Linked DNA regions of Homo sapiens: regions 1 and 3 are each linked to region 2. The links are contacts of gene promoters, found by promoter capture Hi-C in blood cells and fetal thymus (Javierre and others, 2016). All regions are on one chromosome and are shown on one strand. Each heading gives the region's core, a stretch centred on a gene start or on the middle of the fragment in contact. The rest is flanking DNA. Distances are from core to core; before and after follow the strand shown.

Region 1 (3,894 bases), core at 1,218-3,717, 1.5 Mb after region 2:
CAGGTGAAGCTGTACACTATGCTCAGGGAAAACGGGGTTCAAGGAAATATTATTGCAACTTTTTTTTTTTTTTAGGCGGAGTTTCGCTCTTGTCAGCCAGGATGGAGTGCAGTGGCGCAATGCGGGATCCCGGCTCACTGGGACCTCCGCCTCCCGGGTTCAAGCGATTCTCCTGCCTCAGCCTCCCGAGTAGCTGGGATCACAGGCGTGTGCCACCACGCCCGGCTAATTTTGTAGCTTTAGTAGAGACGGGGGTTTCACCATGTTGGCTATGATTGGTCTGGAACTCCTGACCTCAGGTGATGTGACTCCTTGGCCTCCCAAAGTGCTAGGATTACAGGCGTAATCCACCGTGCCCAGCGCAATTTCTTGTTATTCTAGTAATTTAATCAGCCTGGCCAACATGGAGAAACCCTGTCTACTATAAATACAAAAAATTAGCCGGACGTGGTAGCAGGCAACTGTAATCCCAGCGACTAGGGAGGCTGAGGCAGAAGAATCACTTGAACCTGGGAGGTGGAGGTTGCAGTGAGCCGGGATCGTGCCACTGCACTCCAGCCTGGGCTACAGAGTGAGACCCCGCCTCAAAAAAAAAAAAAAAAAAAAAAAAAAAAAATCTAATTATTTCAAAATAATGTAGAAATAGGCTGTGATGGGATTGCTGCTTTTATTGCTTGGAATTCCATGGTTTATCAAGTTTGTTTGTTTGTTTTCCCCACAAATAGTTGTTTGCACTCTTGGCTTTTTGTTGTGGTGACCTGCTCATTAGGCCATAATTCATTTATGCAGTTACATGATTTTTTAGATATTGCTGACCCTGCTTCAAAAACCCATGATCTTTAGGACTGTTTGTTTGGTGCATCGTAACTGCACAATAAAAAATCCATTGTTATTTTGAACATTCTATTTTAGAGACATCATTTATTTCCACTTAAATGCTCTCGTTTAACTAGCTCAGCAAGTATTTTGTAATGTAAAAATTTAGTGGTGCTTATGTCTTTATTTTGGCTTGTGAGCAAATTCCCCTTTTCTCCTATTAACATTTATGACAGCTTTCCCTGAGTTTCCTGTTGTATCAACCCCAGAAGACAGTCACCCCCTGTACCTTCTGTCCTCCACATGAGAACAGGGCATGGAGCCTCTGGCAATTTACATTATCTTTTTTCTGGGCAATTCTTCATTGCTTAATTGTATAGTGCTTAATATAAGTGAAAGCACACTGAATGTATTGGTGTTGCAAAGGCAATGTTTTAAAATCCTTCGGTGTGCTTTACCTCTGCATTATTATTTTGTCTGTAAAAAAAGGCTGTGGCAATAAGAATTCGTTTACCAACTGGCCGGTGAGGTGGCTCACGCCTGTAATCCCAGCACTTTGGGAGGCCAAGGCGGGCGGATCACCTGAGGGCAGGAGTTGGAGACCAGCCTGGCCAACGTGAAATCTGGTCTCTACTAAAATACAAAAATGAGCCGGGAGTGGTGGCACATACCTGTAATTCCAGCTACTTGGGAGGCCGAGGTAGGAGAATAGCTTGAACCCAGAAGGTGGAGGTTGCAGTGGGCAGAGATTGCGCCATTGCACTCCAGCCTGGGCAACAAGAGCGAAACTCCGTATTTTAAAAAAAAATCATTTACTAACTATATGCCAGTGTTTTGCTTAAAGTAACTCAATTATTAACAAGTATTTACCCTTTTTACAGATAGGGCCATTGAAACTCAGATTAACATGTCTAATATCGGTGAGAGAGCAGTCACTCACAGATTCGAAACCAAAAACCAGGCTACTTCTCTTTAGCTGGGCGGCTTGGCAATATGATTAGGAATTCTTTTATGTCTTGGAATTTGGGCTTGTTTCAACTTCAGCATGGTAAATGCTCTAATATACAGGGAAGGAGTAAATCTTTTTTTTTTCTTTTTTGAGACGGGCTTCGCCCTTGCCCAGGCTAGAGTGCAGTGACGTGATCTCGGCTCACTGCAGGCTCCACCCCACGGGGTTCATGCCATTCTTCTGCCTCAGCCTCCTGCATAGCTGGGACTACAGGCGCCCGCCACCTCGCCCTGCTAATTTTTTGTATTTTTATTAGAGACAGGGTTTCACCGTGTTAGCCAGGATGGTCTCGATCTCCTGAGCTCGTGATCCGCCCGCCTCGGCCTCCAAAAGTGCTGGGATTACAGGCGTGAGCCACCGCGCCCGGCCAGGAGTAAATCTTTAAACACATACAGACATCAAAAATCGAGATACTTTCCTCTAGGTACATGTTTGACACTTTCGTTTAGAGATCCTTATTCTCTAAATGCCAGCAAATCTCCCTACTACAAGAGAATTTCTTATGTCTTGTTATTACTAGAAGTAGATGAGCGGGGACTGAATACGTTTTCCCGCCTTTCCTGGTCTTTCAGTTTTCAAAAAGGTCTACTCTACCGTTATATAAAAGGCTGCGGAAAGCGAGTAATCGTTTTGTTTAGAGATAGTTCTGACTTGTTTATCATGTCTGTTCGGGGCAAGGCCGGAAAAGGCCTTGGGAAAGGCGGTGCCAAGTGCCATCGCAAGGTACTGAGCGATAATATTCAGGGCATTACCAAGTGCACTATCCGGCGCTTGGCCCGGCATGGCGGTGTCAAGCGCATCTTGGGCCTCATTTATGAGGAGACCCGCCGGGTGTTCAAGGTGTTCCTGGAAAATGTGATCTGGTACGCCGTGACCAACACGGAGCACGCCAAGCGCAAGACGGTCACCGCCATGGCCGTGGTCTACGTGCTCAAACGCCAGGGAAGAACCCTGTAAGGCTTTGGCGGTTAAGTGAGGCCAGGCCTTTCCTTGCAATATCGTTAATGGCCCTTTTCAGGGCCGCGTACGTTTTCTTCCGAAGGGCTCACGTTTGACATTGTGGAAACTTAACTAACGCACTCAGCAATATTGTGTGTTTTATTGCTGTAGGTGCCCAAAAGCTGTTAGGTGTATAATGCTGTAAAGTATAAATTTACGCCAAGGCTGACATACAACATGGAATACAGGTGGTAAGTTAATCGTGTGTTCAGAGATTAGAAATCTGGTGGGCTGGCTGAGGACATCAACGGCTACATTGTCACTTAAAAGCTCTCAAAATGTGGTTATGGTAGTGTGTTTTTCTCCTTACTGTTAGGATTACCCTCCGTAATTAAAATTGTAGTTTTAGTGCCAAGATAACCCGACTTTTATATTCTGCTTAATAAGCAATTTCAATAACCAGAGAATACACAATAATTAGCACAAACTTGCCAGGTGCCGTTCTGACAAATGTGTCTGCAGTGGAGGGACTGGCCCCCTTGCTAGTTCAATGATCTAATTTAGCAGCACTAAAAGAAGTTTACCTGTTTCGTGCCTTTGCTTGTGATCCATCGTAAATATAGAAACACCTTGATAAGGTGTAACTGCAATAATTCGTGTCTCAATTTACTGTTTATGAAAGTACAGGGGTCAAAGAGCCAATTAAACATCTCAAGAGGGGGAAAAAACCTTCCAGAATGTGGAACATTTGGGACAATTGCTTTGTTCAAAAAGCCACCGAGAAAAACTGGAGGACTTTAAGTTTGAAGGAGATTAAAGTAACATAGCAACTAAATGTATTAATTGCATTCTGTCTCTAAAGTTTTAAAGGGCATTTTGGAGATAATCAAGGAAACTTGAACGTGAACTGGATAACAGGTCATTTTAGTAAGTTTTTAAAGAAAGGTTTGATATATTGAGATTACATGGAATTTCCCTTATTGTTAGGGGTTAGATGCTGAAGTGTGTAGGTGTAAATTCTCATGAGTCTGTCATTTACTTTCGGATGGTGGTAAAATCCACTCTATTGAATGTAGGTAGTGGATGACTGATAAACCCATCTTTTGTTATGTTTTATTCTGAATATTTTT
Region 2 (3,783 bases), core at 1,161-3,660:
GAGGAGAGACTAATTGTTGAAGTAGGATCATGGAAATAAGGAGGTCCATAATATTCTCTATAATCTTTTTTTGTCATAAACAGGGGTTTATAAAACTACCTAGTATAGCATGGTGGTCAAGAACACCAGTTCTGGAGACAAACACACCTGGTGGTGTCCTTTCCTAGCTAGCATAACCTCAGCACATTGTTCAAGCCTTAACTTGCTCAAATGTAAACCCGAAATGACAGGGATAGATCTTGACTCAGGAGGCTTGACAAGGCTAAAAGTAATACTAAAAATAAAAGCAGTAACTACTTCTGTAAGTTGAGCACTGTCTGAAACACTTCAGGGAGTTTTTCTTAATTGAGTTTATGATAATTCTATGAGGTACACACTGTATCCATATCCATTTTACCAGCACAGACAGAGTCATGAAGAAGCCAAATAGCTTGCCTGAAACCCTACATATGATGAGAAAGTGGCAGAGGAAGGAATTGTACTCAGATATTTTGGCTCCAAAGATCCCTGCCAGATCTGCCCTGCCAGTTCATAAGGACTAAGAAGATGCCTCCTCTCTATACTACCATCCAAATGCTTCGCAATCTGTACGTCTGTTGCTCCACTTTTTGCTTATGGCATATTGGCTGCTCATGTTCCTCTTTCTTCTCCTTGAGAGTTAGGATTGTGTAATCTTGTCCTGCATGCCTCTGGTACTCCTAGTGACAACATAGGGTCACAATTGTCTGGCACATTGTTTGTAGCTCAATAATTTATTTTTCTTTTTAAAAAAATTTGAAATGGGGATCTCGCAATGTTGCCCAGGCTGTCTCGAACTCATGGCTCAAGTGATCATCCCGCCTAAGCCTCCCAAAGTGCTAGAATTACAGGCATGAGCCACTGTGCCCAGCCAATAATTTATTTTAATTAATATGAAATAAATGTGTTTACAACAATTTTTTTTAAATTAGAGATGGAGTCTCCCTATATTGCCCAGGCTGGAGGGCAGTGGCTTTTCACAGACACAATCATTGCACATGCAACCTCAAACTCCTGGGCTCAAGTGATCTTCCTGATTTACTTCGTCTCCAGAGTAACTAGAACTACAGGTACACCACTATGTCCAGTTTAACAATATTTTTTATCTTTTTTCTTTCTTTTTTTCTTTAACAATATTTTTAATGATCATTGTTGCTGCTAATCTGGTCTTGATTTGTTAATTGGGAAATACAGTCTAATTTGTTAATTGGGAATTACAGTCTTTCTTTCAGTTGTTACCCACAGCATTCCAATTATTCATGATCCAGCTACTACCAGCTCACATGATCTCAAGGTGAGAAGGGGCTCTCTGTTCCTGGCACCCATGGAAGAAAGAATACTAAGTAGAGGAAAAAGTAAGCACAGACTTTCTCCAGACTGGTCTGGCAGCCCAACCACCACCTCTAAGCACAGAGAGTGTGTGGTGTTTATATGCAAAGTGAAGTTATAAGGAGGAATCTGGAAGAAGGCAGCTTGCTTCTAGGTGTGCAGTGAAAGTAGATAGAGGAAGACAGTGAAAAGGGAGAGAAGAACAAAGAAAAGAAAAAAATACACGAGCGTTTTATCCTCCTTTTCTAAATCAAATAGCATTGAACTGTCACATTCCAGAGAAATAATTATTTGTGACATAGAATCCAATCTTGTAACCTTGTACCTGTTCCCCAGTATATCTCATCCTGAAGCTTACCTGCTCTGTAACAAATGCTAATAGTCCCAAGAGCTCAGTCTTACAGGTCCGGGTTCCTAAAAGGGTCATTTTCTGGCACTAGAAAGATGAAGATCAGAACAAGTTGCATGGATAAGATAAGGACACTATGGTAGAATTTTTTTAAAAAAATCAAATCATCTGCTCTCTACTTCTCTATCTACTTGAGGTTTTCTTGCCTGGCATTTGCAAAGAAATTGGGGCTCATGGGTGAATACTTGGATTGCTAAAATGATAAAGTTTGGCTGTTGGTTTTAGTACACTAAAAGTACAAGGGCAAGAAACGTACCACCACTGTGAGAGTTTCTGGGAAGAAAGGGCAGCTTTGAGATTATAGAACCTGGGGCATCTGGAAAAACTGTATTTTTTTTTTCCTGTAGAAGAGACATGGGACCAAAGGCAAGTTTTACTGGTATTGTGGTTATCACATTTGCCCAATACAGTAAAGACCCTTGGTTTGAAACTCAGTAAGATTTATTATTATTATTATTTGAACAGAACTCTTTTGTTTTCTCTCCTGTCCTGGACTTGAAATCGGCTTATCCAAACCCTAGAGACGCTGACACCCCGCATGCTTTCCCCTCCCACCGTTCAGGGCGTTGCCAGCTCCTCCCTCCTGCATGGTCGGCTGGGTTCCACCAGCTCCGCTAGTGTTAACAGGAGGAAGTGTCCCCCTGGTCTGCATCTCCCTGGTGATCTGGTTCTCATCCGAATGCAGACAGCGGAAAGGGAGGGTTTTCCACAAGGAGGTCGGCAAGTATTTCTAGAAAGAAAAGAGCTTCTCTTCTAATTAGAGCACCAAAGACTACGCTACAGTCAGGTGAAGTCATTAGCCAGTTATTTATTATTTTTGTTATGGGAAGCATAATGTTCTACTTTTTATAGAATTCCTTCGAATTGAGTTATCATTGAAGCTACTAGTTGGTTACAACTAAACATTAAAATGTTTATATCTTATAAACATTATATAACATTATATATAATGTTATATAAACATTATATAACATTAAAACATTTATATCTATAAATTTGAAAACTAATCAGTATTTTTTAAAGTATAAAACAATGGGAAGAACATCTAAATACTAGAAATAGGTTTAAAAATTAGTTCATAGATTCATAGATGCATAAATCTTAACAAATTACCTTTCCCAAATTAATTCTATGCCTCTTTGTATAAGTAACTACTGGGAAATATAGTTTATTATACAAAAAAGTACAAACCGATTATTTATCAAATGTTCCTCAACTTAAATTAGGACATCGAGTTTTTATATTATAAATAGTAAATGTGAAAGTGTGTAATTCACCATAATCAAAAAAAAATCGGAGGTGGGGGTGGAGGGAAAGGGGGAGAATTCAGGACTAGTCTTTTAGGTCAAAAAGAAGAAGCTTTGTAACCGTTGGTTTCCGTAGTGTAGTGGTTATCACGTTCGCCTAACACGCGAAAGGTCCCCGGTTCGAAACCGGGCGGAAACAAAGAGAGTCGCTTTTTTTTCTATCGCTAATTCTGTTTTTGAGTATTTTCATTTGAACCAATAGAATCTTTGCTTTTTGCCGAGCACGTGAACCCTCAACTTCTGTACTCCTTCCGTCACCCAGCGACGTGGCGCTGAATCCCGCGTCACACCTTTCTCTACCCCACGCCGAACCCTCACCCTCATCCTCCTTTTCTGATCTCCGTCTGAGTGACCCCGGTGGTGTCAATCCCAATAGGCACCGGAGTCCCAGAACTCCACCCGCCTGCACCTCGCAGGTGAGACAGGCTTTCTTGGAATCCAGAGAGCAGCACTTGCGGGTTTTTCGTGGAGGGGGTTTCCTCGGGGATTTCTAAGGAAGAGCGCTTCGCTTTGAGCCCTTCGGGGAATTGGATTTGCTCTTTTTTTGCTGAAGCACAGAGAGGAAACACTTTTTTTTTTTTTTTTTTTTGAGACAGAGTTTCGCTGTTGTTGCCAGGCTGGAGTGCAGTGGCACGATCTCGGCTCACTGCAACCCCCGCCTCCCGGGTTCAAGCGATTCTCCTCCCTCAGCCTCCCGAGTAGGTGGGATTACCACCACGC
Region 3 (3,691 bases), core at 237-2,736, 1.2 Mb after region 2:
TGTTGAGCACATGCCCAAGTTTATTGTCTTGCTAACCAAGATATTATCTTGCTAGCCAAGGTGTTGTCTTGTTAAGGGAACCAGCAAGATGACAAAAGAATGGACCTTTCAAGTCAACGTCTACCCAAGCAGCCTGTTTAAGAAAATGATAAAAAGAAAACAGCTCATTAACATTGTCCTTTTCTTTCTTTTCTTTTCTTTTTTTTTTTTTTTTTTTAATTTTGCGGACCCACCAAAGAATGCAGCCCTTCTTTTCTCATGGTCATAAAAATATCACATTCGGTTGGGCGCGGTGGCTCATGCCTGTAATCTCAGCACTTTGGGAGGCCGAGGCGGGCGGATCACTTGAGGTCAGGAGTTTGAGACCAGCCTGGCCAATATGGTGAAACTCCGTCTCCAACTAAAAATACAAAAATTATCCGGGTGTAGTGTTACACACCTGTAGTCCCAGCTGCTCGGGAGCCTGAGGCACAAGAATCGAGGTGGAGGTTGCAGTGAGCGAGATCGCACCATTGCACCCCAGCCTGGACAACAGAGTGAGACTCCGTCTCAAAAACAAACAAACAAAAACAAACACATCACATTCTTATTAGTCATTTGAGGGAACCTGGAGCAATATGATCTGAGAGGCTAGGCTTGGCTAATCCCTAGAAAAAGTAGTAATACATCTAAGAAAGAAATCCCTCTTAGGGAACACCCGAGGCTGCCAGGTGACACAACAAAACTTTCTCATAAAAGCGTTTGATTAATCCGATTAACTTGTAAGCAAGCCATGTGGCAGAGGTAAGAGGCCAAACACCAAGGCACCAGTCCTGATTCTAAACAAGTGCTGGTCCATTTCTTAACTTTGGGATCCATTTTTTCTTTGTGATGGAATAGCAAAAGGTCAAAGTGGAGGAGGACTCAGCCCTTGGGTGTCTCCTCAACGAGGGTTTCTCGAAGGTAAATTGGGGAGGAAGGGAGAGCCCACGGCAGGTCAGTCCAACCTGCCAGTCACCACCTCTTTAAGGCCACAGCCCTGCGGGAGCAATCCTTTCAAATCCCCTTCCTTCCTTCTTTTAGAACGCCCCTAGAACGCCGATTAGGACTTCTCATCCCGGTCGGGCCTGCGGCTCTCTGTGACCCCACCTCTGGATTCAGCTTTTCCCAGGGATTCACACTCGGAGCTCAGGAGAGATGCTGCGATTACTCTGGAGACGGGAAGACAGGCGGGGCTGACGGGGCCCAAGGCCCCTAATCATGACCGGGGCCAGCTGGCAGGAGGGTCCTAAGTATACGGAGGGCGGCGGGACCCCCCCCACCACGCCCCTCATTTTCCGGGGTAGCGCACAAAGTCTGTGAGGCACTTACCCGAGTCTCGTGGCCGTCCGAGGGGCGCGGGAATCCCAGCTGAGGCCCGTGACGCGCCGGAGCCCTAGGCGTGGGCAGGGCCAGCACCAGCCCTAAGACAGAGAAGACGAGCGGAGCCCGGCTCCGCCAGGAACAGGAAGGCGAGGGAAGGTGAGGATGCGCTTCCGGGGCTGCAGGCGGGGAGCCGCCCCGAGTCCAAGCCGGAGAGAGCTGGTTCTCCCCCTGGCGATACGTGTGTGAGCCTCTGAGGCCCGCCCTAAGCACTGCTGCCCCGATCTAGCAAGACAAGAAGACAGGAAATTTATGACAGCCTGAAAAAGTCTTTAAAAGATACACACTGGAAGAATTTCGTAGTAAGATGAGGAAAAAAAAACGTGTTTCCGCCCGGTTTCGAACCGGGGACCTTTCGCGTGTGAGGCGAACGTGATAACCACTACACTACGGAAACCCACTAAGGGCTTATTTTTCAGAGTAAATAGTTCTTCCTGCCTAGTTCCGTGTTTCTTCGTTCCAAGTGCGTGTTTTGCTGATGTGCGCGTGCGTCTCTGTACCGACCTCTCAAACCAGAAAAACCAATGAAAAGCTCAGACCCAGCCCCTCCAGTGTTCAAACTGAAGCCATAGAATTTATTCTACAAATGACTGAATAGGGAAGAACACAATAGAGACTTTAATTTAATCTCTGAACGGTCCTTCGTTCTTCGGCCAAAATGGCCAGGCAAGGCTGGGCACAACTTGGGTAGGGCGAGCGTTTCTCTGGCGTAGTTGGCGTTACCACGTGGTCAGTGGCAGAATGCTCCGCAAAGAAATGATAACCCCATATGTTGTCGGGAGCTGCCCCTCTTGCTTCTGAGTCTTCCAGGCAAATTTATCTTGCAGGAATTTCCTTACTCCTGCGGAGTCAGAAAGTTGTAAAACGACCCTGCTTACACCGAGCCAGCCAGGAGTCGAACCTGGAATCTTCTGATCCGTAGTCAGACGCGTTATCCATTGCGCCACTGGCCCTGCGCGTACCTTAGGGGCGAGGTATTTCATAAGAAACTAGGTTGTACCCGTAATATCTGGGTGAACGCCTGTAAGCCGCGTTTGCCCGCTGGTCCAGGCTCGCAGCGCATGGACTCTCTGGTAGCTACTTCTGCACACGCCCCGTGGCCTTCATTCCTTTCTCGGTCTGTCTCTGCCGGCTGAAAAATGGCGGTGAAAAGCAAGCCCTGCATCCTCTCTGCCCCAATATCACCGCTCCATTAATGCGTTCGTTCATTCAACCAGTATTAGTGTTCAAGGCACTGCAGATAACGGTGAAGAAAACATGAGAGACCCTTGCCCTCAAGATTACATGGCAGTGGCGGAAGCGGATAATAAAGCATTAAATAAACAAAATAATAGTGATAAGCGATTGGAGAAAAATAATAATAAAACAGGGAAAGAGGATAGGAAAGGCCAGCAGTGAAAGTGATGAATGAGGGATAAATGCTGATATCGGGGAAATGAGTGATCTGGAACAGGGAAAAATCGCTAGGGAAAAGGCCTGGAGGTGGAAGCAGGCTTGGGAGTTATGTTGAGGAGGCCGGTGCTCAGTGGAGAGGAATAGGAGATCCTGGGAGACCACCTCCAGCTTTATAGGCCCTTGTAAGGACTCTGGCCAGCTTTACAGGCTCTTGTAAGGACTCTGGCTGGTATTCTGTAGGAAACTGGAAGCCGTTGTACGGTGACGTGGTCTGAGTTTTCATTTGTCTCTCTGTGGGTCTTTTTTTTTTTTTCTTCAAATATTTTACTAAGCGAAACTGTGCTAGGCCTCCTCACTGCATGCTGCTTCTACTGCAGGGCCTTGATCTCAGAATTTGACAGCTTTATAAGGAGCATCATCAACCCGGACACTCATATGAATGTTCACTTTTTCACTTTGAAAGCAAACAAACGTCTCATATGTGTGTGTTTTAGTTTGTCCATATTTCTGAGAATAAATCATCCCCATGCCTGGTGAGCATTTTAAATAAGATGAGGTCTACTAAACAGAAGTAAAACTGCCTGATATTGAGAATATACACTTTGAGATTAGAAAATATTTGTTTTCAGTTCATAAGGTTTCAACAGCCGTTACAAAAAATATTCTGCTCTTTCTGCATAAATATTAAGGTAGACCTAGGTTATGGATTACTCCCTAGGCAATAGCATAGGGATCTTCTCGTTAGGTTTTGTACTATGGACCCCAAGGGCAGCTTGGTGATTCTGGACTCTATCTCAGAATAATACTTTTAAATACACGAAAGAAAAGATAAATATGTAAGATTTCAAAAGAAAACTAATTATGTTAAAATAGGTTACCAAAACTTTTTTTTTTT

The links. Contacts are between HindIII fragments. The CHiCAGO score rates a contact against its expected background, and 5 or more counts as called.
Region 1: the fragment with the promoter of H4C7 here is called in contact with a fragment that was not itself captured in region 2 in 5 of 17 cell types (monocytes, fetal thymus, activated CD4 T cells and 2 more); the score reaches 9.9 in monocytes.
Region 3: the fragment with the promoter of HMGN4 here is called in contact with a fragment that was not itself captured in region 2 in 3 of 17 cell types (fetal thymus, monocytes and M1 macrophages); the score reaches 7.6 in fetal thymus.

Annotation. Positions count from the first base shown.
Region 1 is chr6:26,245,569-26,249,462 of GRCh38, reverse strand. It overlaps H4C7 (H4 clustered histone 7), which reads left to right and starts at 2,467. Exons shown (of 1, transcript NM_003547.3): 1 at 2,467-2,852. The coding sequence starts at 2,486. The coding sequence ends at 2,782. The HindIII fragment of the contact is 5,476 bases long and covers 1-3,894 here.
Region 2 is chr6:27,752,819-27,756,601 of GRCh38, reverse strand. TRV-AAC1-5 (tRNA-Val (anticodon AAC) 1-5) reads left to right here and starts at 3,130; the gene lies at 3,130-3,202. RefSeq lists a silencer at 3,027-3,166 and an enhancer at 3,617-3,706. The HindIII fragment of the contact is 1,415 bases long and covers 1,703-3,117 here.
Region 3 is chr6:26,536,161-26,539,851 of GRCh38, reverse strand. HMGN4 (high mobility group nucleosomal binding domain 4) reads right to left here and starts at 1,486. Exons shown (of 2, transcript NM_006353.3): 1 at 1,351-1,486. It overlaps TRR-ACG1-2 (tRNA-Arg (anticodon ACG) 1-2), which reads right to left and starts at 2,354; the gene lies at 2,282-2,354. TRV-CAC1-6 (tRNA-Val (anticodon CAC) 1-6) reads right to left here and starts at 1,798; the gene lies at 1,726-1,798. RefSeq lists enhancers at 866-1,275, 2,536-3,200, 3,290-3,691 and silencers at 1,766-1,815, 2,209-2,502. The HindIII fragment of the contact is 7,010 bases long and covers 1-3,691 here.